7 separate regions of the Homo sapiens genome follow, and all the other regions are linked to region 1. Evidence: promoter capture Hi-C in 16 types of primary human blood cells and fetal thymus (Javierre and others, 2016). All regions are on one chromosome and are shown on one strand. Each heading gives the region's core, a stretch centred on a gene start or on the middle of the fragment in contact. The rest is flanking DNA. Distances are from core to core; before and after follow the strand shown.

What was found. The method cuts DNA at HindIII sites, captures the fragments that hold promoters and counts their contacts. A CHiCAGO score of 5 or more calls a contact.
Region 2: a contact is called between a fragment that was not itself captured here and the fragment with the promoter of LINC00852 in region 1, in 2 of 17 cell types (naive CD4 T cells and endothelial precursors). The highest score is 6.9, in naive CD4 T cells.
Region 3: a contact is called between a fragment that was not itself captured here and the fragment with the promoter of LINC00852 in region 1, in 1 of 17 cell types (non-activated CD4 T cells). The highest score is 5.0, in non-activated CD4 T cells.
Region 4: the fragment with the promoter of IL17RC here is called in contact with the fragment with the promoter of LINC00852 in region 1 in 2 of 17 cell types (total CD8 T cells and naive CD8 T cells); the score reaches 8.4 in total CD8 T cells.
Region 5: a contact is called between the fragment with the promoter of CRELD1 here and the fragment with the promoter of LINC00852 in region 1, in 11 of 17 cell types (activated CD4 T cells, naive CD4 T cells, non-activated CD4 T cells and 8 more). The highest score is 11.7, in activated CD4 T cells.
Region 6: the fragment with the promoter of JAGN1 here is called in contact with the fragment with the promoter of LINC00852 in region 1 in 3 of 17 cell types (total CD8 T cells, non-activated CD4 T cells and naive CD8 T cells); the score reaches 7.1 in total CD8 T cells.
Region 7: a contact is called between the fragment with the promoter of RPUSD3 here and the fragment with the promoter of LINC00852 in region 1, in 8 of 17 cell types (activated CD4 T cells, non-activated CD4 T cells, naive CD4 T cells and 5 more). The highest score is 9.9, in activated CD4 T cells.

The regions. Positions count from the first base shown.
Region 1 is chr3:10,282,472-10,286,113 of GRCh38, forward strand. LINC00852 (long intergenic non-protein coding RNA 852) reads left to right here and starts at 1,948. Exons shown (of 1, transcript NR_026829.1): 1 at 1,948-3,275. GHRL (ghrelin and obestatin prepropeptide) reads right to left here. Exons shown (of 6, transcript NM_016362.5): 6 at 3,195-3,423. The coding sequence ends at 3,404. It overlaps GHRLOS (ghrelin opposite strand/antisense RNA), which reads left to right. Exons shown (of 6, transcript NR_073568.1): 2 at 1,050-1,132; 3 at 3,277-3,382. The HindIII fragment of the contact is 4,911 bases long and covers 92-3,642 here.
Region 2 is chr3:9,949,850-9,953,123 of GRCh38, forward strand. It overlaps PRRT3 (proline rich transmembrane protein 3), which reads right to left and starts at 2,559. Exons shown (of 4, transcript NM_207351.5): 1 at 2,473-2,559; 2 at 1-323. The coding sequence starts at 266. All of the region lies in intron 3 of PRRT3-AS1 (PRRT3 antisense RNA 1), which reads left to right. RefSeq lists a silencer at 2,058-2,597. The HindIII fragment of the contact is 545 bases long and covers 1,500-2,044 here.
Region 3 is chr3:9,869,309-9,872,648 of GRCh38, forward strand. It overlaps CIDEC (cell death inducing DFFA like effector c), which reads right to left. Exons shown (of 7, transcript NM_001321142.2): 5 at 856-1,014; 6 at 574-761. Among named protein-coding and RNA genes, the nearest start is that of CIDEC, 9.3 kb to the right of the region's middle. The HindIII fragment of the contact is 7,361 bases long and covers 1-3,340 here.
Region 4 is chr3:9,915,848-9,919,146 of GRCh38, forward strand. IL17RC (interleukin 17 receptor C) reads left to right here and starts at 1,251. Exons shown (of 19, transcript NM_153460.4): 1 at 1,251-1,573; 2 at 1,866-1,887; 3 at 2,076-2,228; 4 at 2,488-2,562; 5 at 2,653-2,762. The coding sequence starts at 1,469. IL17RE (interleukin 17 receptor E) reads left to right here. Exons shown (of 16, transcript NM_153480.2): 16 at 1-550. It also overlaps the pseudogene RNU6-882P. RefSeq lists enhancers at 504-1,043, 973-1,162. The HindIII fragment of the contact is 19,830 bases long and covers 1-3,299 here.
Region 5 is chr3:9,931,464-9,935,083 of GRCh38, forward strand. CRELD1 (CRELD disulfide isomerase 1) reads left to right here and starts at 2,371. Exons shown (of 11, transcript NM_001077415.3): 1 at 2,371-2,457; 2 at 2,957-3,149; 3 at 3,372-3,454. The coding sequence starts at 2,976. It overlaps IL17RC (interleukin 17 receptor C), which reads left to right. Exons shown (of 19, transcript NM_153460.4): 17 at 1,145-1,240; 18 at 1,357-1,395; 19 at 1,490-2,158. The coding sequence ends at 2,130. RefSeq lists silencers at 1,343-1,402, 1,983-2,312 and an enhancer at 2,413-2,782. The HindIII fragment of the contact is 19,312 bases long and covers 574-3,620 here.
Region 6 is chr3:9,888,616-9,892,325 of GRCh38, forward strand. JAGN1 (jagunal vesicle mediated transporter 1) reads left to right here and starts at 1,995. Exons shown (of 2, transcript NM_032492.4): 1 at 1,995-2,196. The coding sequence starts at 2,108. The HindIII fragment of the contact is 18,772 bases long and covers 1-3,710 here.
Region 7 is chr3:9,841,672-9,845,419 of GRCh38, forward strand. RPUSD3 (RNA pseudouridine synthase D3) reads right to left here and starts at 2,337. Exons shown (of 9, transcript NM_173659.5): 1 at 2,219-2,337; 2 at 1,794-1,930; 3 at 528-572; 4 at 312-411. The coding sequence starts at 2,319. RefSeq lists an enhancer at 2,200-2,279. The HindIII fragment of the contact is 7,859 bases long and covers 447-3,748 here.

The DNA.
Region 1 (3,642 bases), core at 698-3,197:
ACAGTTGAATGTGCAGTTGGCTTTGTCCACTCAGTGATGGTCCTTGTGACTGTTCTTGGCTTTTCTGTTGTTTTTCCATCTTTCTATAGGAAGCTTGAGACCGATACTCATCGTTTGCTTTCAGCACCTTAATTTTGCTTTGTTCATTTTTGTAAAGTAAGGGCAAATGGCCACCGGAATGTACAGTGATTAAAGAAGCAAACTCTGTCAAAGATGGTGATTAGTGGCCAGCCAGTCCCTCTCAGGATCACTGTATTAAAAAGTGCTCATTTGCCAGTGACATTTTTTTTTGGTTTTGGTTTTTTTTTTTTTTTTTTTTTTTGAGACTGAGTGTCACTCTGTCGCCCAGGCTGGAATGCAGTGGCCTGATCTCAGCTCACTGCAACCTCCACCTCCCAGGTTCAAGTGATTCTCGTGCCTCAGCCTTCTGAGTAGCTGGGACTACAGGCGCCCAATACCATGACTGGCTAATTTTTTTTTTTTTAAATTTTAAGTAGAGATGAGATTTTGCCATGTTGGCCTGTTTGGCCTTATACTCCTCATCTCAGGTGATCCACCTGCCTCGGCCCCCCAAATGCCAGTGACATTTGTAGGTGGATTCAGATTAAGGTGGGTAGCTTAGTTGAGGCGTCTCAACCCTTTTCTGTGCACTCTCTCAAGATGATTTCTGAACACACAACTATAAGTGCATGAGAACTTAAATACGTGTGCTCTTATGCTAATTATACACAAAGTAAAAGTTTTTTCACAAGGAGAATTTTTTTCTCCAGCAAATAGCTCGCTCACCCTAGGGGTACATACACCCCACTTTAGAGACCCTCAAGTTACAGTGGTATCATTAAACGATCCATAAAGGAGTGGGTTTAAGAAAGCTGATACAGGAACATGTTTGAAATAATACATTTTCTCAAGGGTGTCCTCCAACCATTTTCTTTGATAAATTATATTTCTGCCCATTGTTGACTTGAAATTGTCCTCACCCCTCTACCAAGTTCACCCAGTGTATTCTGAAGGAAAATGAATGAATATGGAAACCTCTCTCATCCTAGGCAGTAGAGCGAGGGAAGCTGCACTGGCTGAGAGGCTGTGGAACCGGATGAAAAAGCAGCCCCTGAGTCCTGTGGCGTTGGCTGTGAGTCGGCCACGTGCTTGCTGTGTGCTTTAGGAAAGTTACTTAATTTCTCTGAGCTTTAGTTTTCTCCCTCATAAGTAGGCTTGCTGTGAAAATGAAGTGAAATCACATTAATCTGCATGAGCATTTAACACGGTGCCTGGTGTACATCAGGGGTGTGACAGTGAGTGCTGGCTGCTGTAGTAATTGAATGCTTAGCTACGTGCCGGGCCCTTTGCCAGCTACAGCTCATGTGAGACCTCATGTTCAGTCTTGGCAGTAACCCAGCAAGGTAGGCATTTTACATGTGAGGAGCCTGAGAAATTCAGTCTTGGCCTGGATCACAGAGCTGGTATCCAAATTCAGGTCCGAGGCCAAAGCCCAGATCTTTGCACTACACCTTGTTGCCTGGCACAGGTGAGAGTGCCCAGCCCATAGTGGGTGCGCAATATCTGTTTCTATTTGAATGACCCAGGCAGGCGGTTAATAATGCTTGTGATTTCTTTGAGAGAGAAGTAAGTTCTTGTCTTTGGTGGGGGAAGCATCAGGTGACCAGCATTTGTCCAGAGCCTGGTACCCATCCTCTCCCAAGCCCAATCAGTGGTGCTTTCTCAAAAAGAAACCATCTCCTGACCACTTTGGCCATATTGGGCCTTTGCTCCTCTTCTGTAGCTATTGATAAGAGGGCTGTGGGCAGTTAGTGATAATCAAGGTCGTATCCCAACTAAGTGACAGAGCTGAGACAGTTAAGTTCCAGGACAAGTGTGTTGATCTCTGTACCCACTTGTGCCAGGTGCCTGGGGAGGTAGGGGCATGGCTGTCTGAGGGTGGAGGGGTGAGTAGGGGGCCTGCAGTGTGCTGTGACGCCTGGGAAGGGGATTCTAAGCCATTTCCCATCAGCCGTTTACTAAGTAGCCTGGGGATCTTGTTAAAATGCAGATCCTGATAGATTAGGGCTGGGGTGCTGCCCAAGATTCTACATTTCTAAGAGTCCCTGGATGACGGTGGCATTCACAGACCACAGCTTCTATGTGAGGGAGAGCAGTTGGGTTTCTGTCTGCCTGCCGCACCTGATCAGTAGTTAGTGCCTGCATGTGTGGCGGCCAGAATTTTACTTGGGGAGACGCTCGGCTCCTAGCACCCTCTGTGGTAGGGGTTTTCCAGAGTGTGGGCATTACCCCAACTGTCTCTGCAGACGGCTTCCTGCATGTTTCCCACAAGCGCTCAGATGGCTGAATTGGCAAGTCTGTGGTGCTGCTCTTTGGGGCCACCTCGTTCTTTGCCTTTCCCTCCCCTTAGCGATGTGTCCCATCCGTTGCCTACAGTCAAGTCAGTCCACATGTTTAGGCTAAGGTGGGCATGACCGAGTGGCCTTCCCCCGGGAAGACCAGTGTCGTAACTGGAATTAAGTTGTGGAACATAAGAGTCAAGGCTCGTGTCTGCTGTGAACTGGAGTTGAGGGAATGTTTGGGGATCCCACCTGGTATCAGTAAGGGAACCATGGCGACGGCCAGCCTTGCCCATGTGAGGCATTTGCTTTGTCAGGCCTTCTCAGTAGTGGAGAAGGGAGGAAGGAGAATGCAGCTCTTTCAGTGCTGTCTAGCAGTGCCCAAGAGCCGTGATTGGGCACCTCACTTAACGTCTAACTTCAGATTCACTCTTGGGCATTCCTGTCTTCCTCTCCAATCTTGAATGGATGTTGGCTTCGATAATGTCATCCTGAAGTTTCTTTGTCCACACAGCCCTGGCTGGTTGTTAATAAGCTGTTAATGCAGCCTTGCACTCAGGAAGCCCTGATGTTTAAAGGAACTGTGTCTTTGTTCTTCCTCTCTTCCCTCTTTCTCTTAGTCCCACTTTATCTCTTCTTTCTCTTCCTCTCCCTCCTCCTTTTCCCCTCTCCCTCCTACTCTCCCCCTTTCTCTCCTCCTTCTCTAAGAAACCCAGTCTTAATTCCACACAATGCATGCACATGCAGTAGCTTCTCTGCTTGAGTGAGCTGGTGTGATTAGGTTTTCTAAACATGCACATTGGCCTTGCTACTTGTCCTTTTATTCCCTTCCCACAGACCATAAACCAAGAATTATTTTTATTTGTATTATTTTGATTTTTTTAAAGTAAAATATTAACTTTTCCTCTTTGAAATAAATTCCCATTTGGAACATCAGCATACAGTTTGAACATTTATTCGCCTCCTGAGCTTGTACAACAGTCGTGGGAGTTGCTGCAGAAGCAAGCGAAAAGCCAGATGAGCGCTTCTAAACTTAGAGAGAGGTGAGTAAGGCTTGTGGGCGATCACTTGTCGGCTGGGGCCTCTGGAAAGCAAGAGGTTGAGTAAGAATGCTGGGTGCACCGTCCTGCTAGTGCTTTTCTTCCACGGTGGTGAGATTGGAGGTGGGATGTAATGGTGGGGGTTGTGGGGAAGCACTGGCCTTGGAGTCAGAGGGCGGCACTCAAGTGTGGACTGTTGTGCCCTGGGCAAGTCACCTCAAAGCTCTGAGTCTTGGTTTCCTCGTTTGCACAGCGGGGTGAAT
Region 2 (3,274 bases), core at 522-3,021, 330 kb before region 1:
GCTACAGGCTTCTCAGGCATCTCTTCAGCAGGGGCGTGGCGGACATCAGAGTTCCTGTGACTGTCAGCTCTGGGGTTCTCCGGGAACACGTCAAAGGCCTGGGGCTCTGAGCCCACAGAGCCCTTGGGGTGGGCTCCAGGGATCATAGGGATTTCGGAGTTTTCAAGTGGCCTGGGAAAGCCCCTCCCCAGGGCAGGGCCAGTCCCCAGGAGTGGCAGCAGCAACAGCAGAAGGCCACATACACAGCCCCATGGGCTGGAGGCCATGGTCTACTCCGATGCCTGGGCCTAAAGCCCCCACCTTCCAGTCCTCACTGGATGAGCCTAAAAAAAAAACAGGGCATGGAATGACATGTGAGGGCTGGGGGCCCCCATGCCTTCCTCAAGGGGCTGACAGGAAAGAAAAGCAACGCAAGGCAGCAGCTTCTCTGCTTTTAAAATTGCTGGACGTGGCACTTGCCCTGCTTTAAAACCTTCAGTGGCTCCCCATTTCCCTCAAGAAAGAACATAAGCTCCTCTCCTGGCCTTCCAAGACCCTGGCCACCACAAGCTGTTCATCTGTCCTCCAACACCCACTGGACTGTGTGGCTCCCATGCCTTTTGCTTCTGCTGTTCTGTCAGCAGGGAATGCTCTCTCCCTTCCCCTTCACTTACTGAAATCCTGTTCTTTTTGAGACGGAGTCTTGCTCTGTCGCTCAGGCTGGAGTGCAGTGGCGTGATCTCGGCTCACTGCAACCTCCACCTCCCAGGTTCAAGTGATTCTCCTGCCTCAGCCTCCCGAGTAGCTGGGGTTACAGACATGTGCCACCACACCTGGCTAATTTTTATATTTTTAATAGAGATGGGGTTTTGCCATGTTGGCAAGGCTAGTCTTGAACTCCTGACCTCAGGTAATCTGCCCATCTTGGCCTCCTAAAGTGCTGGGATTACAGGCATGAGCCACTGCACCCTGCCTGAAATGTTATTCCTAAAGGCCCACTTCAAAAATGAGAGACGTGGAGAGGGAGAGGAATATGCACCGGCCTTTGGCGAGGGGCCTGAGTTTGAATCCCAGTGTCTTCATTTCCTGGGGGAGTCATTTCACCTCTCTGCATCATAGTTTTCCCATCAGTAAAATGGGGATAATAAGCATGCCTAACTCAAGGCATGAGACAAATAACCAAACAGGTATGGGCGAGGTTCATACCTGATGCTTGACAAGCGTTACACATTCCTCTTCCCGCCTTCCTTCCCTCATCTTCCTGGGCACTTGTCACTCTGGTCTGATTCTATAATAATCTCCTGCCTCTTATTTCAAACCTGCAGCCTCCAGTATATACCTGGCCCCACGTGGATATCCCCTAAAAGTTCCTGTTCTCGAGAGCCTGTCAGTGGGCCAGGGAGGCAGGAAGGGGCCCCACCACCAGGAGAGGTTTCATGGAGGGTGCGAGAGCTGAAGCCTGGGTGTGTTTGGCGGCAGAGGCCCTGCTCTTTTCCTCTCTGGGGAGCAGCTGTCCCCAAAGCTTCCTGGCTGTTAACCCATGGTGGCTCACAGACACCTTAAGAAGCCACTGAAAACCCCTGGTGCTCTCCCGGGGAAAAGACCCAGGCTCACCGAAAGTTGTGAACAATTTCAAGGGGTTCAAAGACCTTTGAGTCCCATCCTCCAAACTCGAGTTTAGACTCTGTCTTAAAGCCTTGTTAGTTCATTTCTCAAACATTCACGGAGCCCCATGGGCTGCTCCTGGTCTAGGCTAGGTGCTGGGGGCCCAGAGACAGGGCTTTGCTCCAGGGTTGGGAGTAGGGGTGCGCTGAGACGCCCCTAACACAGGTACTGGCTAAAAACAGTGCTCCTGTGTTTAGTTCTTTCCCAGTGAGGCTCCTGCGCTGAGCTTAGCAACACGTCACTCCGCCCTCCCAATACAAGGTGTGGGAACAGCCATTTCACAGGGGGAAGAAACGGGGGTTCAGAGAGGGTGAGCAACTCCCCCAAGGTCACACAGCTGAGTGGACACAATCGGGGTTGTGAAACCCTCGGAGGCTCATCTTCCACAGGAGGTCCAAAAAGCTTTGCCGAGAAAACGGCTGAATGGGGCCTCCAAAGATAAACATGCCATCTGCCTACCACTGCCAACCCAAGAGATGTGGGCACCTGCGGACAAGGCGGGGGCTTGCCCAGCCCTGGGCTCCCACTCTGCTGGAGAGGCTGTGGGGGGTGGCGGATCTCTCTGCCGCAGGGACTGGGGAGAGGCCGGCCTGGGGGCAGGGCGAGGCCGTTGCGGGGCAGCCTCGGAGCTGGTCCATCTCGGGTTACCTCTCCTCCTCCTCCTCCTCCTCCTCCGTCTCCTCTCTCCCTGGCTCCGCGCCTTCCCGCAGTGTCCTGGATGGGGGTGGGCGCCGTGCAGGCCTGGTCGCCTGCGCCCGCGACGGGGGCAGCAGGCCACGCTCCCCGTCGGGGTCCCGCCATCGCCCCCTCCCTGGGCCAGCTCCTCACCTGCGCGCCGCAGCCCCCGTGTTCACCTTGCGCGCGTCCCTGCAGCCGATCGCCGCGCCGCATCCTCCGAGATGCTCAGACTCGGCTAACAGAGCCCGGCGCTGCCGATCGCGAGCCCGCCCACAGGAGCGCAGCCCTGCTTAACTCTTTCCCCTTAGGGGTGGACTCTTCTGTCAACCCTGACTTCCCCTCGCTCAGGGATTGTCAGGGCTCAGAGTGGAACCGAGGTCATCTCTGAGGGATGTGGAAATGTCTTCTGCAGCATCCCTGAAAACGGGGCAGCTAGCCTCTGCTTGCATACCTCATGGGACGGGGAGCTCACTTCCTTTCTATATCCCTACATCCTTTTAGGTAAATCCTACCTACAGCTTGGTATGTATCCTTCAGATTCTTCTCAATGTACAGTTACATGTACATCTTAAATAGAAATGACATCATACTGTATACTTTTTTTTTTTTTTTTTGAGACAGTCTTGCTCTGTCGCCCAGGCTGGAGTGCAGTGGCGTGATCTCGGCTCACTGCAACCTCCGCCTCCCAGGTTCAAGTGGTTCTCCTGCCTCAGCCTCCCTAGTAACCATGCCTGGCTAATTTTTATATTTTTAGTGGAGACAGGGTTTCACCATGTTGGCCAGGGTGGTCTCGAACTCCTGACCTCAGGTGATCAGCCCGCCTCGGACCCCCAAAGTGTTGGGATTACAGGCGTCAGCCACCGTGCCCAGCCACTGTACACATTTCTGTAATTTGTCTTTTTCACTTTCCAATATATTCTGGCACATTTTTCATGTAAATATCTATAGATCT
Region 3 (3,340 bases), core at 412-2,911, 410 kb before region 1:
GGCAGAATCTTGGCTCACTGCAACCTCTGCCTCCTAGCTTCAAGCGATTCTCCTGCTTCAGCCTCCTGAGTAGTTGGGATTACAGGCATGCACCACGATGTCCAGCTAGTTTTCATATTTTTGTAGAGATTAGGTTTTGCCATGTTGGCCAGGCTGGTCTCAAACTCCTGACCTCAAGTGATCCACCCACCTTGGCCTCTCAAAGTGCTGGGATTACAGGCATGAGCCACCGTGCCTGGCCAACACATGTTCATTTTTATAAAATTGACTAGAAGACTACTTAGGAAAACTTCCTATTTCAATGAAAAAATGTAGTTACTAGAGTGGAAAGTAGTCATAAAAATAAAATGCATCCAGGTTCCACCAGGAGGAACACGTGCACCCCTGGGCACACGCCGGTGTCGTCCACAGCACTTCGAGAGCCCATCAGGCTCCGTGTTGTCTGATACAGGCTATGCTTTGTCAGCACCAAAGCCAGACCCAGGCGCTGAGAAGGCTGAGTCCATGTGGACAGATAGGGGCTCTCCCATTGCCTGTACCCACCCTGTCCCCAGGAAATCCCAATTTGCTCACTTCATGATGCGCTTGGCCCCACAGCAGTGCAGATCATAGGAAAGGGAGTATGTATCATAAAAAGTCGCCTTCACGTTCAGGCAGCCAATGAAGTCCTGTGGGTTCAGCTTGTACAGATCAAACGTTACACGGGCCACATCAATCTTCTTGGCAGGCTTATGGGAGAGGGACAGTGGGTGCCTTGTCCCCTGCATTGAGACAAGCAAATGGTTAGCACCCCTTGAAGACATCTCCCAGAGTCCCGATTTTCTCCCCCATCAGGTGCAACAGGTGGGACCTCACCTGTTCTGATGGGGGCTGCCATTTCTGCCCCTTCTGGAGGACCATGAACACTGTATCCCCTGCCAGGGCTTGGAAGTACTCTTCTGTCTCTACAGTTGTGCCATCTTCCTCCAGCACCAGGAAGAAGGGCTTGTCTGCCAGCATCAGAGTGTCCCGGACCTGGGGAATAAGGTCAGTGATGCTTCTGCCATCCCAGAACAAGTGGGCTGGACTCTATGAGGTGGAACTGGAGCCCAGGCCCTCTGCTGTGGAATCACTACCCAGAGACTTTATCATGGTACCTCTTGGCTCCTGGCTTCAGGGTTCCTAGTCTAGAATAATATTGTCCAATAAAATATAATGTAAGTCACATATAATTTTTAATTGTGATACAGTTTACATACTCTAAAAGTTACCCTCTAAAAGTGTACAATTCAGGGTTTTTTAGTATATTCGCAAAGTTGTGCAACAATCACCACTACCTAATAGTGCAGTGACTACTAGGCTGGAATGCAGTAATCATAAGCATATCATAAGCATAAGTAGAGAGCACATGACATAATTGTAGCTCATTGCAGCCTCCAACTCTTGGGCACAAGCAATCCTCCTGCCTCAGCCTCCCGAGTAGCTGGGACTACAGTTGCATGCCATTACTACCTGCCTAATGTTTATGTTTTTTTAAAGATGGTGTCTGGCTATGTTGCTCAGACTGGTCTCAAACTCCTTGCCTCAAGGGATCCTTCTACCTTGGCCTCCCAAAGTGCTGGAATTACAGGCATGTGCTATCACGTCCGGACATAATTCATTCTTTTTTTTTTTTGGCTAAATAATATTCTACTATATAGATATAACAGATTTTAAAATCTATTTATCAGTGGATGAACGCTTGGATTGTTTATTCTTGACTATTATGAATAATGCTGCTATGAGTTTTTGTGTACAAGTTTTTATATGAACATATGTTTTCAATTTTCCTGGGCATATATACCTAGGAGTAGAATTGCTGAGTCATACATTAACTCTATGTTTAATTTTTTTTTTTTTTTTTTTTTCTGGGGAGAAGGCCTTGCTCTTTAACCAGGTTGGAATGCAGTGGTATAATCACAGCTCACTGCAGCCTCAACCTCCTGGGCTCAAGTGATCCTTCTACTTTAGCCTCCCAAGTAGCTGAGATTACAGGTTTGTGCCATGTTGCCCAGCTAATTTTTTTTTTTTTTTTTTTTTGGTGGAGACAGGGTGCTGCTTTGTTTCCCAGGCTGGTCTCAAACTCCTGGGCTCAAGTAATCCTCCCTGCTCAGCCTCCCAAAATGCTGGGATTACAAGCATGAGCCACCACAATGGGCCTATGTTTAACTTTGAGGAGGTGCCAAACTGTTTTCCACAGTGGCTGCATCATTTTACATCCCCACTAGCAACGTATGAGAACTCCAGTCTCCTTACATCCTCACTGATGCTTTCATTGTCTGTATTTTAGCCAAAAATCCTTATTTTTTTTTCTTTTTTTGAGACTGAGTTTTGCTCTTGTTTCCCAGGCTGGAGTGCAGTGGCATGATCTCGACTCACCGCAATCCCCACCTCCTGGGTTCAAGCGATTCTCCTGCCTCAGCCTTCCTGAGTGGCTGGGATTACAGACATGTGCCACCACACCCAGCTAATTTTATACTTGTAGTAGATACAAGGTTTCTCTATGTTGGTCAGGCTGGTCTCAAACTCCCGACCTCAGTTGATCCGCCTGCCTCGGCCTCCCAAAGTGCAGGGATTATAGGCATGAGCCACTGCACCAGGCCCAAAAATCTTTTTTTCGTTTGTTTGTTTTGTTTTTGGTTTTGTTTTGTTTTTTGTTTTTTTAATAGAGATAGGATCTCACCATGTTGCCAAGGCTGTTCTCGAACTCCTGGATGCTCAGGCAGTCCTCCCGCCTCGGCCTCCTAAAGTGCTTGGATTACAGACGTGAGGCACAACACCCAGCCATATATCCACTTTTTGGTGGATGAAGTGATTTTAATTTGCATTCCCCTAATGATTAATGATGCTGAGCCTTTTTTTTTTGAAACAGGGTCTTGCTCTCTCACCCAGGCTGGAGTGCAGTGGTGCCATCATGACTCACTGCAGTGTCACCCTCCTAGGCTCAAGTGATCCTCCCACCTCAGTCTCCCAAGTAGCTGGGACTACAGGCATGTGCCACCGTTCCCAGCTAATTTTTGTATTTTTTTGTAGAAGTAAGGTTTTGCCATGTTACCCAGGCTGGTCTTGAACTCCTGGGCTCAAGCGATCCGCCTGCCTCCACCTCCCGAAGTGCTAAAATTAGAGGCATGAGCCAATACGCTTGGCCAAGCATCTTTTCATGGGTTTATTGGCCACTGTGTTATCTTCTTTGGAGAAATATCTACTCAAATCCTTTGCGCATTTTTAATTGGGTTGTCTTTTTCTTGCTTAGCTGTAAACACTATATATTCTTGATATTAGACCCTTATCAGCTATATGATTTGCAACTATTTTCTCCCAT
Region 4 (3,299 bases), core at 1-2,500, 370 kb before region 1:
GCAACGGACACTGGCTGGAACCCCGGAATGAGCCTTCGACCCTGAAATCCTTGGGGTGCCTCGAGGACGACTGGCCGAAAAGCCGCATTCCCTGCCTCACAGGCCGGAAGTCCCAGCCCAGTCCCCGCGCGCGTCCCTCTTCCTCCTCATACTTTCCCTTGACTGAGAGCTCCTCTAACCCCTGTTCTGATGGGGGAGGGCGGTCTTCCCACTTCCTCTCCAGAACTCCAGAAAGAGCAGTGTGCTTATGCTTCAGTCCAGGCTGGAGAGGTTGGGGCCGGGGTAGGGAGGCAGGAGCCATGTCAGTTCTGAAGGAGGGTGAGGCGGTGGGGGATTGCAGGGGGCGGCTGAGAGAAAACCTCCTTGGGGGCCAGGGATTCCCTTTCCCACTCTGAGGCTCTGGCCAGAGGGAGAGAGGACTCTGGACCTAGGAAAAGAGGCTTTTGGCTCCAGGTGGTCAGGACAGTGGGGGTTGGGGGTGGGGTGGGTGGGTGCTGGCGGTGGGGACCAAGATCCGGAAAGATGAATAAAGACAAACATGACAAACTAAGAAAACACAGTGTGCTTCTCTAGTGTGGCTGGGGAGCCTGCCTGGTGGGGTATGTGTCAGTGTGCTGGCCCAAATCCTCTGTGTCCATACCGCATGGCATCCGTCACATTCTTACAAGCAATGCCTCCAAAAGCAAAGGAGGATGGGGCAATCTCCTTGATCCCCCCCAGTGATTCTTACAAGAGGAGAGGAAAACAGAGGCTTCGCCAGATGGTGTGTCCATCATCACACAGCCGGCCCACAGCAACAGCACAGATGGGACCCCTGTCTGCCAGGCTCTGGGGTCCTGGGTTCCTTCTACTCCCCATACCGCATTTGAGCCAGGCAGTGGTGAAAAGCCCACTTTCTGGTGCCTTTTGTCCGTGCTTTTAGAGCTCCTGTCCCACAAAGGGTTACCGAGGCCCAAAGAGTGTCTGAAGGGACCGAGTGTGCCTAGTAAGGGGAGACTTAGTGGGCCCAGGACTCCAGGGCTGTGTCCTCCTTAGGGCTCCGGGGGTGAGTAAGAGCTCCCTTACTCAGCCGTGATGCATTCGCTGTCTTCTTCAGGGGCCCCTCCCAGCCAGGTGTCAGCAGAGGGAGAGGAGAGCCAAAGAAGGAGGAGGTGCGGCCACCACCCTAGTCCAAGGCTGCTGGCTCCCAAGCCTGGTGTTGGTGGGAGGGACAGAGAGGGGCGGGAACAGCCAGCAGCCTGCCGGGAGCCAAAACGAAAGCACTCCGTGCTGGAAGTAGGAGGAGAGTCAGGACTCCCAGGACAGAGAGTGCACAAACTACCCAGCACAGCCCCCTCCGCCCCCTCTGGAGGCTGAAGAGGGATTCCAGCCCCTGCCACCCACAGACACGGGCTGACTGGGGTGTCTGCCCCCCTTGGGGGGGGGCAGCACAGGGCCTCAGGCCTGGGTGCCACCTGGCACCTAGAAGATGCCTGTGCCCTGGTTCTTGCTGTCCTTGGCACTGGGCCGAAGCCCAGTGGTCCTTTCTCTGGAGAGGCTTGTGGGGCCTCAGGACGCTACCCACTGCTCTCCGGTGAGTCTGGAACCCTGGGGAGACGAGGAAAGGCTCAGGGTTCAGTTTTTGGCTCAGCAAAGCCTTAGCCTGGCTCCTGTCACTGCTGCCACTGCCAGAACTGCCCTGTCTGGTCTGTCTGGTGCTGATGGTAGAAGAGAAGAACGGGGAAGGGGCAAGAGCTGGGTCTGTCTTTCTCTGGGAGGGTCTGGGAATACGGAGCCCCAGAAAAAGGTAGGTGGAGGTCTTAGGCAGAGAACAGTGCCTAGATGGTGGGGGCACAAATTCTGACTCTCCTTTCTTTCCTTCCCAGGGCCTCTCCTGCCGCCTCTGGGGTAAGTATCCCTACTTTTAAAAAGAATTTCCCAGGTTGGCCGAAGGGAGCAGAGCTGTCCCAGGCCCATGCCCTCCATGCCCACCTCAGCCTAGGACAGCCAAGTTCTTTGGCTCTCTGGGTATGTCAGGTGCCACCAAATTCTGGGCTTGGAACAGCTTCAGCTCCCACCCGCTCCTCCACACACAGACAGTGACATACTCTGCCTGCCTGGGGACATCGTGCCTGCTCCGGGCCCCGTGCTGGCGCCTACGCACCTGCAGACAGAGCTGGTGCTGAGGTGCCAGAAGGAGACCGACTGTGACCTCTGTCTGCGTGTGGCTGTCCACTTGGCCGTGCATGGTGAGCAAGTCATCCTGTGACAGTGCATGTGTACACGTGAGTGTGTCTGGGGTGGGCATGAGGGCCAGGGGATCTCTCAAGCAGTGCTAGGCATCCTCAGTGTTCTCCTGGAGGACACCAGCAGAAGGACCCCCAGGCCAGTGTGGTCTCCCCAGCCCCTGCTTCCCAGCACTGGGCTTTCCAGAAGGAAGCCAACGCCAAAGCCAGCCAGCCCAGAGCAGGGGGCCTCACCCAGGGCCTTGCTCTTGGGTCCTTCTAGGGCACTGGGAAGAGCCTGAAGATGAGGAAAAGTTTGGAGGAGCAGCTGACTCAGGGGTGGAGGAGCCTAGGAATGGTGAGGAGAACCTGGCTGGCCCAACTGCCCCATGCCAAGGCCTGGCCTGCCGCTCCTGGGCCTGACTGACCCCTGCCCTGTTGCCCACAGCCTCTCTCCAGGCCCAAGTCGTGCTCTCCTTCCAGGCCTACCCTACTGCCCGCTGCGTCCTGCTGGAGGTGCAAGTGCCTGCTGCCCTTGTGCAGTTTGGTCAGTCTGTGGTATGCAAAATAATAATAATCACCTTCTAAACCTAAAATCTATAAAACTTTTTCACATGCATTATCTCTTTGAGGATTACAAAAGAATTAAATTTATTGAAACCCTTCAGTACCAGGCATTACAGCCAGTGTTTTACAGGTATCAACTTATTTAATTCTCACAACAGCCATGTGAGGTGGGACTATTCTTTTGATTCTGATCAGCGCTGTGGGCAAGTCCCTTCAGCCTGTTATGCCTCAGCTTTTATGTCTGTAAAATGGGGATGAGAATAGTTCTACTTCATATGCTTGACTGCGAGAAATCACCAAGCGTTTTTCAGGGTGCTTCTACTATTTTCCCCTCCTACCAGCAGTGTATGGGAGTCCTAGTTGCTTCCCATCTTTGCCAACACTTGATGGTGTAATTTTATTTTATTTTTAAATTAAATATATTTGAATTTTAAATATATGGGACCCTCCATGAATTTGCATGTCATCCTCAGGCACGGGCCTTGCTAATCTTTTCTGTATTGTTCCAGTTGTAGTATATGTGGTGCC
Region 5 (3,620 bases), core at 1,121-3,620, 350 kb before region 1:
CACACACATATATATATATATATATATATATATATATATACTTATTTTTTTATTTATTTTTGAGGCAGAGTCTCACTCTGTTGCCCAGGCTGGAGTGCAATGGCGCGATCTCGGCTAACTGCAACCTCTGCCTCCCGGGTTCAAGCAATTCTCTACCTCAGCCTCCCGGGTAGCTGGGATTAATAGGCGCCTGCCACCATGCCCTGCTAATTTTTGTATTTTTAGTAGAGATGGGGTTTCACCATCTTGGCCAGGCTGGTCTTGAACTCCTGACCTCGTGATCCGCCCGCGTCGGCCTCCCAAAGTGCTGGGATTATAGTCGTGAGTCACCGCACCTGGCCCAAATTTATATTTTTAAAAGATCTCTGAGGCTGTCATGAATCAATTCAAGGCAAATCAATTGGAGGTAAAAAAAAAAAAAAAAAGACAGGGCAGGGACACCAGGTAGTTGCAGACACCCAGGACAGCAAGATCAAGGGCCCAGCAACCCTAGCTTAGGGGAGAAAAACAGCTGACATTTTAGCACTTAAGATGCTCGGCATTGTGTTAAGTATGTATTAACACATTGTGTTAAGCTTTATATGTATTAATATATTTAGTCCTCACACCAACCCTATGACACAGGTACAACTTTACAGAGGAGAAAACTGAGGCAGAGGGTGACATTACTTATTCAAAGACCCCTAAACAGATGGAGCTATATTCATCCACTGGCTCTGACACTGTGCTGTGGACTCTGGGCAAATCATTTCTTCGTTTTTTGTTTTGTTTTGTTTTGTTTTGAGAGGAGTCTCACCCTGTCGCCCAGGCTGGAGTGCAATGGCGCGATCTCGGCTCACTGCAACCTCTGCCTCCCGAGTTCAAGCGATTCTCTTGCCTCAGCCTCCCGAGTAGCTGGGATTACAGGCGTGTGCCACCACGCCCGGCTAATTTTTTGTATTTTTAGTAGAGACGGGGTTTCACCGTGTTAGCCAGGATGGTCTTGATGTCCTGACCTCGTGATCTGCCCGCCTCGGCCTCCCGAAGTGCTGGGATTATATAAAGGCATGAGCCACCGCACCCGGCCCAATTCATTTCTGTTAAGTCTCAGTTTTTCTTCTCTGTGGAGGGTAAGTTTCTAACTCTTCTTCTCTGGGTCTCCCAGACATCCACAAGCGCTGGGCCCTCGTGTGGCTGGCCTGCCTACTCTTTGCCGCTGCGCTTTCCCTCATCCTCCTTCTCAAAAAGGATCACGCGAAAGGTGAGCGCTTCCCGGCTCCCCATTCCCCTGGGGGAGGACCAGAGTGGCTGTGGGAGTTCTCCGAGGGAAAGCGGCGGCCGAGCTCACTGGCTGCCTCCGCCCCTCTCCCCTAACAGGGTGGCTGAGGCTCTTGAAACAGGACGTCCGCTCGGGGGGTGAGTGGGAGCAAGCGCTGGGCGGAGGGCCGCCCCCGGGGAGCCAGGCCTGTGCCAGCTCACCTCTTCCCTCCCCATCTGTTTTCTCCGGCAGCGGCCGCCAGGGGCCGCGCGGCTCTGCTCCTCTACTCAGCCGATGACTCGGGTTTCGAGCGCCTGGTGGGCGCCCTGGCGTCGGCCCTGTGCCAGCTGCCGCTGCGCGTGGCCGTAGACCTGTGGAGCCGTCGTGAACTGAGCGCGCAGGGGCCCGTGGCTTGGTTTCACGCGCAGCGGCGCCAGACCCTGCAGGAGGGCGGCGTGGTGGTCTTGCTCTTCTCTCCCGGTGCGGTGGCGCTGTGCAGCGAGTGGCTACAGGATGGGGTGTCCGGGCCCGGGGCGCACGGCCCGCACGACGCCTTCCGCGCCTCGCTCAGCTGCGTGCTGCCCGACTTCTTGCAGGGCCGGGCGCCCGGCAGCTACGTGGGGGCCTGCTTCGACAGGCTGCTCCACCCGGACGCCGTACCCGCCCTTTTCCGCACCGTGCCCGTCTTCACACTGCCCTCCCAACTGCCAGACTTCCTGGGGGCCCTGCAGCAGCCTCGCGCCCCGCGTTCCGGGCGGCTCCAAGAGAGAGCGGAGCAAGTGTCCCGGGCCCTTCAGCCAGCCCTGGATAGCTACTTCCATCCCCCGGGGACTCCCGCGCCGGGACGCGGGGTGGGACCAGGCGCGGGACCTGGGGCGGGGGACGGGACTTAAATAAAGGCAGACGCTGTTTTTCTACCCATGTGGCCCACACGCGTCTCCGTTTCAGTGGCGGGGCTGGCAAACGTCATTCCCTAGCCCCGCGGCCCTTTAAAGCCCGGACAGGTGCAGCTCGGTGCCGCCTCTGGTTGGCTGGCGTGGGGTGACGTAATGGCACATGGCCCGTCGCCATTGGCTGGGCGGCAAGCTCCGCCCCCTGGACTGCGGCGCGGGTGGGGGTTGTGCGTTTTACGCAGGCTGTGGCAGCGACGCGGTGAGGAGACGGCCCACGGCGCCCGCGGGCTGGGGCGGTCGCTTCTTCCTTCTCCGTGGCCTACGAGGGTCTGGATCCTTCTCTGCCGGCTCGTGGGCCGTGCCTTTGCCCTTCTGCGAGGCCCTGAATCTGATCCCTTCCCTTCATATCCGGATCCGGGCTCCTCCCTCCAAGCCCGGGGTTCCGGACACCTCCCCCAAGACAACCCCTCTGGCCTCCTCTCCTTCAGTACTTGGAATCTGATCTCTTCTCCCTAATTCTGCGGATCCGGCCCCTAATATTCTTTATCAGACCCTCAGACAAGAGGCTGACTTCTGCCCCCTTGTCAAGGAGCGAGGCCACTTTCCTCTCCACCCCATGCTAGCGAGGATAACTTATTTCTCTTCTGGAATTGCATCTTATGCGCCTTTCCCCACCCATCCCCACAGCCCCTGCAATACCCAGTTTGGCCTCTTTTGCTTGTAATAACGCAGATCCCAGCGCCACGGCACCTTAGAACAGACCTTTTTCTTTCTCGCGTGGGGCCTGACTCCTTCAGTGAAGCCTCTCCACGCCCTCTATCTGCAGGTCCCCAGCCTGGGTAAAGATGGCCCCATGGCCCCCGAAGGGCCTAGTCCCAGCTATGCTCTGGGGCCTCAGCCTCTTCCTCAACCTCCCAGGACCTATCTGGCTCCAGCCCTCTCCACCTCCCCAGTCTTCTCCCCCGCCTCAGCCCCATCCGTGTCATACCTGCCGGGGACTGGTTGACAGCTTTAACAAGGTGGGTGCACCGGCAGCCTCGTTAGAGGGGAACACAGCGATTTAGAGTGGGGAACTCTGGGATGCAAATCTGCGTGGATTTAAGTTTCATCTTGGTCTCTTACTAGTTGTATGGCCCTAGGCAGGTTGCCTTTCTGTGCCTCAGTTTCCTAGTCAGTAGAACAGTGAAGTGCTAGCATGTGCCAGGCACTGTACTTAGCTATTACTAATTTTCTGTTTCCAGGGCCTGGAGAGAACCATCCGGGACAACTTTGGAGGTGGAAACACTGCCTGGGAGGAAGAGAATTTGTCCAAATACAAAGACAGGTAAGGGGCTGCTGGGGGAAGGGGTGTATATTCCCCTCCCCGCCAAATCTCTGCTCTGCTGGTGTAGGGCTAGGAACTCTTGGGGAGCACTTATTCATTCAACAAATAGCACTGAACATCTATAGTATAGCAGTAAACAAGGCAAGCAAAATGCCCCCTTCCTGGA
Region 6 (3,710 bases), core at 745-3,244, 390 kb before region 1:
TGATTCCTCTGCTTCACCCTTGGCCCCTGCAAGCCATTCTCTACACAGCAACTAGATCTATCTTTATTTATTTATTTACAGACAGTGTCTTACTCTGTTGCCCAGAATGGAATGCAGTGGCATAATCATGGCTCACTGTAACCTTGAACTCCTGGTCTCAAATGATTCTCCCACCTCATCCTCCCGAGTAGCCTGGACTACAGGCACGCACCACCATGCCAGTTAATATTATTTTATTTTTTATTTTTGTAGAGACGGGAGTCTCACTATGTTGCCCAGGCTGATCTCCTGCCTTGGCCTCCCAAAGTGCTGAGATTACAGGCTTGAGGCACTGTGCCCCCACCTAGACCTATCTTTTAAAAATGCAAAACTGTGTCATTTTCCTGGTTAAACCTTTTAGTGGTTCCCCAAACCCCCTGGGATAAAGACTTAACTCTTTACTGAACCCTCCAAATGCTCCAGTCACTCTTAAGTTTCTCAGTTCTTTGAAGAGCCAAGTGCTCTCTGGATTTGGGGCCTTCACACATGCTGTTCCCTCTGCCTGAAAAGCTCTTCCGCTCCCCACCTCTTTAGCCAATTCCCACTCAGGCTTCAGACCTCAGCTCAATTGCTGCCACTCCAGAGAGACTTTCCTAACCCTCCAGGTCAGGGAGAGAGGCCTCATTTTTCCTCCCTCAGCCTCCTGTGTTTTCTTGAATTTCTTAGCTTCATGGGTACAAGTTCTTCCCCCGACTGGGCTGGGATCCCTCAGGGGAAATGGACCATGTTTATTTCTGCGTCCCCAGGTCATAGCAGAGCATCCTGGTGCATGGAAGATGCTCACTATACATGCTTTTTTCTTTCTTTTTTTCTTTATTCGGATAATATAACTTCTTTCTTTAAAGTTTCGCTTAGTATTTTGTTGTGGTAAAATGCACATAACATAAAACTTACTATGTTAATCATTTTTAAGTGTACAGTTTCCGTGGCATTAAGCACACACATATAGTTGTGCAATCAGTACCACCATCCATCTCCAGAACTTTTTTCATCTTCCCGAACTGAAGCTCTGTACCCATTAAACACTAGCTCCCCATTCTCTGTCCACCCCTCGAGCTTCTGGCAATGGTCATTCTACTTTGTCTCTACAGATAAAGTTTATTTGGAAATAATTTTTCTTTCATGGCCTTGACATTTTTGAAGAGTACAGTCCAGCTCTCTTCTAGACTGTCCCTCCGTCTGGATTTATGTCATTTCTTCATGATTAGATTCAGTTAGGTATTTTTGGCAGAAACATCATAGAAGTGATGCTGTGTCCTCAGTCTATTAAAAGAGGCACAAGATATCAGTTTATCTCATTATTGATCAAATTAACTGACTATATGTTTAAGGGAGACAAGCCAGATTTCCTCACTGAGAGATTCCCTGTTTCTCTTTGCAATAATTAAATGTGAGAAACTTATTTTGAGACAAAGTCTCACTCTGCACTCTGTCCCCCAGGCTGGAGTGCATTGGCACAATCTCGACTTACTGCAACCTCTGCCTCCCTGGTTCAAGCGATTCTCCTGCCTCAGCCACCCAAGTAGCTGGGGTCACAGGAACCCACCACACCTGGCTAATTTTTGTATTTTTAGTAGAGACGGGATTTCACCATGTTGCCCAGGCTGGTCTTGAACTCCTGACATCAAGTGATCCACCCACCTCGGCCTCCCAAAGTGCTGGGATTAAAGGTGTGAGGCTGTGTGAATGATGTGTGCTCCAGGGAAAGTCATAGAATATATCAGTTTCCCCCTCTGTAAAGTGTGGACAGAAGTATCCTAACTGATATTACAGCTTAAGAAAGTAAAAGTGTTCAAGCGGCCTCTGGGCGCCAGCAAAAGAGGCTGGGGATTAATTTCCTGCGCGCTCCACAAGAGGCGGGGCTGGGCGGGGCGGGGGCGAGAGGGAACGAGGGCGCCTGCGCGGAGAGGAGTGACCATAGAGTCGGTCCTCCAGAGACAGAGGGGCCGGAAGTTCTCTTCACGGAGCCGCGCGGCTGCGGGGGCGCAAATAGGGTCAGTGGGCCGCTTGGCGGTGTCGTTGCGGTACCAGGTCCGCGTGAGGGGTTCGGGGGTTCTGGGCAGGCACAATGGCGTCTCGAGCAGGCCCGCGAGCGGCCGGCACCGACGGCAGCGACTTTCAGCACCGGGAGCGCGTCGCCATGCACTACCAGATGAGGTATGAAGTGAGGCGAGGAGCACGGAGGCTTTCTCCCCCGCTGGAGCCTGCGGGGCTTGGGGAGCGACGCCGGCCCGGCCTCAGGGTCTTGCTCCCCAGCCAGCCCCCGCTCACCTGCCAAGTCCCCTCCTCCCGTGACGGCTTCGGGCCTGTCCCCCATCCTGGAAAGCCCCGTGGCCCCCGCGAGCTCCACCCCTTGTTCCGCCCGGTGCCTTGAGGGGATCCAGCCCCGCGTGGGCTCCCGCCCTGCGTGGGCTCCCGAGTCACGTCGATGCTGGCCCCGCTGTATCACCTTCGAAACCGAATTTCTAATTTGAGCCTCAGCTTCCTCATCTGTAGAGGGAGAGAATAATCTGCCTTTTAGGTTTTGGTGAAAGATTAATCAGTAATTCGTGTAAAGAAAGTAGCATAAGGCCTACCACGTAATATATGGTAGGTGTTATATTTTGGGCCGTTTGGGGGGATATAGACAGTAAAAGGCAGCCTTTCCTAAGGACGCCTTGCCTAAAATGAATTTTATAAACACTCCCACGTAAGGGGTATTTCTACATTCAATTACTAGTTCGACAAATACTGAGCTTCCAAACATCATACACTGCTAGACACTAGGTTATAATAGTGAGCAAAAGCAGACGTGGTCTTTGTATACATGTTATACCTTCAATAAACAATTTTATTAAAGAAAAAAAAAACTGTTCCCTGCCTTCATGGAGCTTGAAGTCTAGAGATGACTGTTTTTTTTTTCCAACCTTTCCACATTTTCTACAATAAATATTTTTAAATAAAAATTTTAAAATTTTTACTTCCTTAAATCCATTGATCTCTCCCAGAATGTTCTTCACATCTCTCTCTCCAGAGTTTTAAAGAATGACAAGCTCTTTGAACTCTCATTTGTTTCACATCTCTAGGCCCCGGCTGAAAGGGCCCTCACAACTTAAGCAGGTGTTTTCATGCCAGCCCAGAGTAGAAACATTGCCTTTAGGGATATGAGGAGGATACGTTTGGGACGTGAGAGAATTAGAAGAATAAGATAAGTATGTACTTCTTTTGGATGAAAAAATCTAGCTGGAGAAGTATGGGCGGCCTGAGTACGTTTCCTCTCTGCCAATACCTTCTCCCGCCAGACTTTAATCCTATGGTGCAGTCAGCGTCCTCTTGCTAAACACAGCTCTGAGCTACCCTTCTGCCTTTATTATTATTATTAATTTATTTATTTATTTTTGAGACGGAGTCACGGTCTGTCGCCCAGGCTGGAGTGCAGTGGCGCGATCTCAGCTCACTTGTAAGCTCCGCCTCCCGGGTTCACGCCATTCTCAGCCTCAGCCTCCCGAGTAGCTGGGACTACAGGCGCCCGCCACCACGTGCTGCTAATTTTTTTGTATTTTTAGTAGAGACAGGGTTTCACCGTGTCAGCCAGGATGGTCTCGATCTCCTGACCTCGTGATCTGCCCGCCTCGGCCTCCCAAAGTGCTGGGATTACAGGCGTGAGCCACCGCGCCCAGCCCTGCCTTTTT
Region 7 (3,748 bases), core at 1,087-3,586, 440 kb before region 1:
TTGCCCAGGCTGGTCTCGAACTCCTGGGCTCAAGTGATCCTCTTGCCTTGGCCTCCAGAAGTGTTGGGATTACAGGTGTGAGTCACTGTGCCCAGCGTCAGGGAGGTGTCATGCTTTGCCTGGTATCACACCATTTGTACTTGAGGATTTGAACCCAGAGCCATCGGCTTCCTCTTCTTCACAGTACTTGTATCCACCTCTATGATCTCAAACCTTCCCATGGAAAATGTCTCAGCTTATCCCCAAGCAGCTGTTTCCCCACCACAGATGGATGCCTGTACTCCTAGCTTCCTGTCACCCCTACCACTTACTTCCCAGATGCTCGGACAACCTGAAGCTCCTGCTCCCTGAGCCCTAGGGACTGGCTCAGCTCTGGCAGCACTGAGAACAACGTCAGCTCTCCTGGTTTTCCTGGAAAGTAAGAAAGAAAAATTACAAGAGGCCAAAGCTTCATGCCTTCACTTTTCCCTCCCTCAGTCACGAAACCCCCTTCCGCTGCATTCCCTTCCCACATCCCCGGCCCATACCTGTCACTGGTAGACCCTGTGGCTTGTTCAACGTCACTAGAGGTCCTGAAACATACATCACACGAACATCAGCAAAAGCAACGGTAACCCTTTATGCAGCACTAAAGAGTTTCCAGAGCACTTTCTCACGCATCTTAGCACATGTCCCCATCATGACTCTCAGACATGAGTTAACTACCCCACACCAAATTCAACTTCTTTCTGTTCCTCTGCCACCTCAGAGCCTCGGCACTTGCTGTTTCCTGTCCCCAAATTTCCCAGGTCTGGCTCCCTATCATCTTGGCTCAAATGTCACATCACGGAGAGGTCTGAATCTCCAATCTAATGTCTGCCTTCCTCCTGCAGTTCCTCACCATCATAACACCCTGTTTTAGTTTATGCATAGCACTTACCACTAGTAACTTGTTCATTTATTTTCTGACATCCATTTCTCCCGTTAGAGAGAAATCCATTTCTCCCCTGAGAGCAGAAACCATATCTATCTTTTTCAGCACTGTATAGCCTGCCTAGAACAGTGCCTGGAACATAGCATATGTTCAAGAAATAGTTGAGAAAAGGAATAAATCACTGAATAGAGAGTGGGGTTCAGAGAAATTCAGTTATTTTCCTAAAGCCGCACAGCAAGCTGATCACAGAGCCTAGGTATGTCTGACTCCAAAGCCTGTGTTTTGTCCGTCGATAAATAATCATTATTTATTTATTTATTTATTTAGACTGAGTCTTGCTCTGTCATCCCAGGCTGGAGCGCAGTAGCACGATGTCGGCTCACTGCAACCTCTGCTATCCGGGTTCAAGTGACTCTCCTGCCTCAGCCTCCCGAGTAGCTGGGATTACAGGCGGACGCCGCCACACCTGGCTAATTTTTGTGTTTTTAGTAGAGACGGGGTTTCACCATGTTGGCCAGGCTAGTCTCGAACTCCTGACCTCAGGTGATCCGCCCGCGTCAGCACCCTAAAGTGCCGGGATTACAGGCGTGAGCCACCGCGGCCAATAAACAATAATCTAGTATAGCAACTCCCGTAACTGAGCGCCGGCTATGTGCAAGGCTCGGTAGTTATTTGCATCTTCTCCCCACTCTTAACCCTACTGCATCATGGCAGTAGGGTTAAAAGCGGGGAGAGGGTGCAAATTAGGTGGCTTGTCCCAGCTCATGCTGCTAGTGGGAGGCAGAAGCAGGGCTGATCCCGTGGCTTCAATGGAGAGCCCAACTGCACGCCGAGGCAGTCCCCTCCCGGTCCTTGTGCGGCCGTGCCTCTCACCCCTCACCTTTCCGGTCCACCACGGCTGCCCGCAGCGCATCAACCAGCTCCTCCCGACTGAGGTTTTTTGGCAGCAGCCCCGCGAAGGGCTGGTCCCCGAGGGGCCCCGACCGTTGGCAGGAGCCGCGGGGTTGCCTCTGATGCCTGGACAAGGAGGGAGAAGCAATGGGAGTCATTCCATCCCGAGGTGCCACCCATTCCTATCTCCGGACGCCTCTTCCCAAATCCTGCGGCCTCTGACAAATGCCTCACAATGTCTGGGCTGACCTCGAAAATTCAGGTACGACCGGTCCCATTCTACAGCGGAGGGCACCGAGGCTCAGAGAGGCCAACGGGGCTGTTTTCGGGTAACATCTACCTGATCCAGATCCCGCACGTGCCTTCCCCCTGCCCTAGCCTCCGTCCCGCATGAGAGAGGGGGTACTTAATCACCGGGCTTCGGTGCCAAAGCCTGCGTCCTCGGGCACTGGGCGGACACCCAGGCCCCGCCGCCAGCCACTCCAGAACCGGCCCAAAACACGGCGGCCGTCCATCTCCCGAGCCAGGACAGCGCGCATGTGCGTCCAGAGGGGCAGACCCGCGCTCCAGCCAGCGCGCTGATTGGTCAGCTGGAGTGTCAATCGGAATGGTGACCGGGCGGGACTCAGAGCCTGAGGAGGCGGGGCTTTTCCTCCGCCCAGGAAGGAAATGCAGAAATGCCTTCCTATGCTTTTAGGGAGAGCGCTGTAGCAGAAGAATTTGATCTGATCAAAAAACCTGTCTTAGCAAAAAACCTGAAGCCGCCTTTGCAAAAATTATATTACAAAATTATGACAGCGAAAGAGATCTGATCTAACCAACCCGCAGCTTGCCTTTAACCTCTAAACGGTCCTTGGTCATTCCTGGGCTTGGGCCAAGCTAACTTTGGGAGAAATTAGTTCGTAGTCTAAATGATAATTGCCCTTCCCCCGAACTAAACTGGCTTCATAGAGTTAATGAAAGGCCACCAGGTTAGGAGTAGTAGAGGGACCTGAATTCTGCTAAGGGTTAGAGGTAACTGATTACCAGCGGTTATTCCGGAGGTCACAGTGTTTGCAGCTTCCCCAGCTCACGATTGTCCAACCTGAGATTGGCCTTTGGAGATGTCTTTCCAGGCTTTTGCATTTCTGACGGCCGGATCACCCCACCCGGACCCTCAACTCTTGGCTCTACTAGTCCTGTGGCCCCTCGAAGTCAGGAGATCGAGACCATCCTGGCTAACACGGTGAAACCACGTCTCCACCAAAAATACAAAAAAATTAGCCGGGCGTGGTGGCGGGCGCCTGTAGTCCCAGCTACTCGGGAGGCTGAGGCAGGAGAATGGCGTGAACCCGGGAGGCGGAGTTTGCAGTGAGCCGAGATCGTGCCACTGCACTCCAGCCTGGGCGACGAGCGAGACTCCGTCTCAAAAAAAAAAAAAAAAGAAAAAAGAAAAAGAAAGTAGAAGAACACAGAAAAAAAAGAATAATATAATGACTGCCCACATTCCTACCATCAGAATTAGTCATTGTGAAACAATATATATATGTATAGGTTTCCTGTTTTTCTTGTTTAAGAAATGAAAGGGATAAAAGTAAATTCCCCTTTACTGCGTGCTTCCAGTTTTCACTCCCTCCCCAGTCTCCACTTTGAGTTTGGTGTGAACATTTTCCTAATGTGTTTTGGTTTTTGTTTTTTGGAGACAGAGTCTCGCTCTGTCACCCAGGCTAGAGTGCAGTGGCCCGATCTCGACTCACTGCAACTTCCACCTCCCGGGTTCAAGCGATTCCCCTGCCTTTGCCTCCTGAGTAGCTGGAATTACAGGTGCGGTGCCCGCCACCACACCCGGCTAATTTTTTGTATTTTAGTGACGGGGTTTCACCATGTCGCCCAGGCTGGTCTCGAACTCCTGAGCTCAGGCAATCCGCCCGCCTTGGCCTCCCAAAGTGCTAGGATTACAGACGT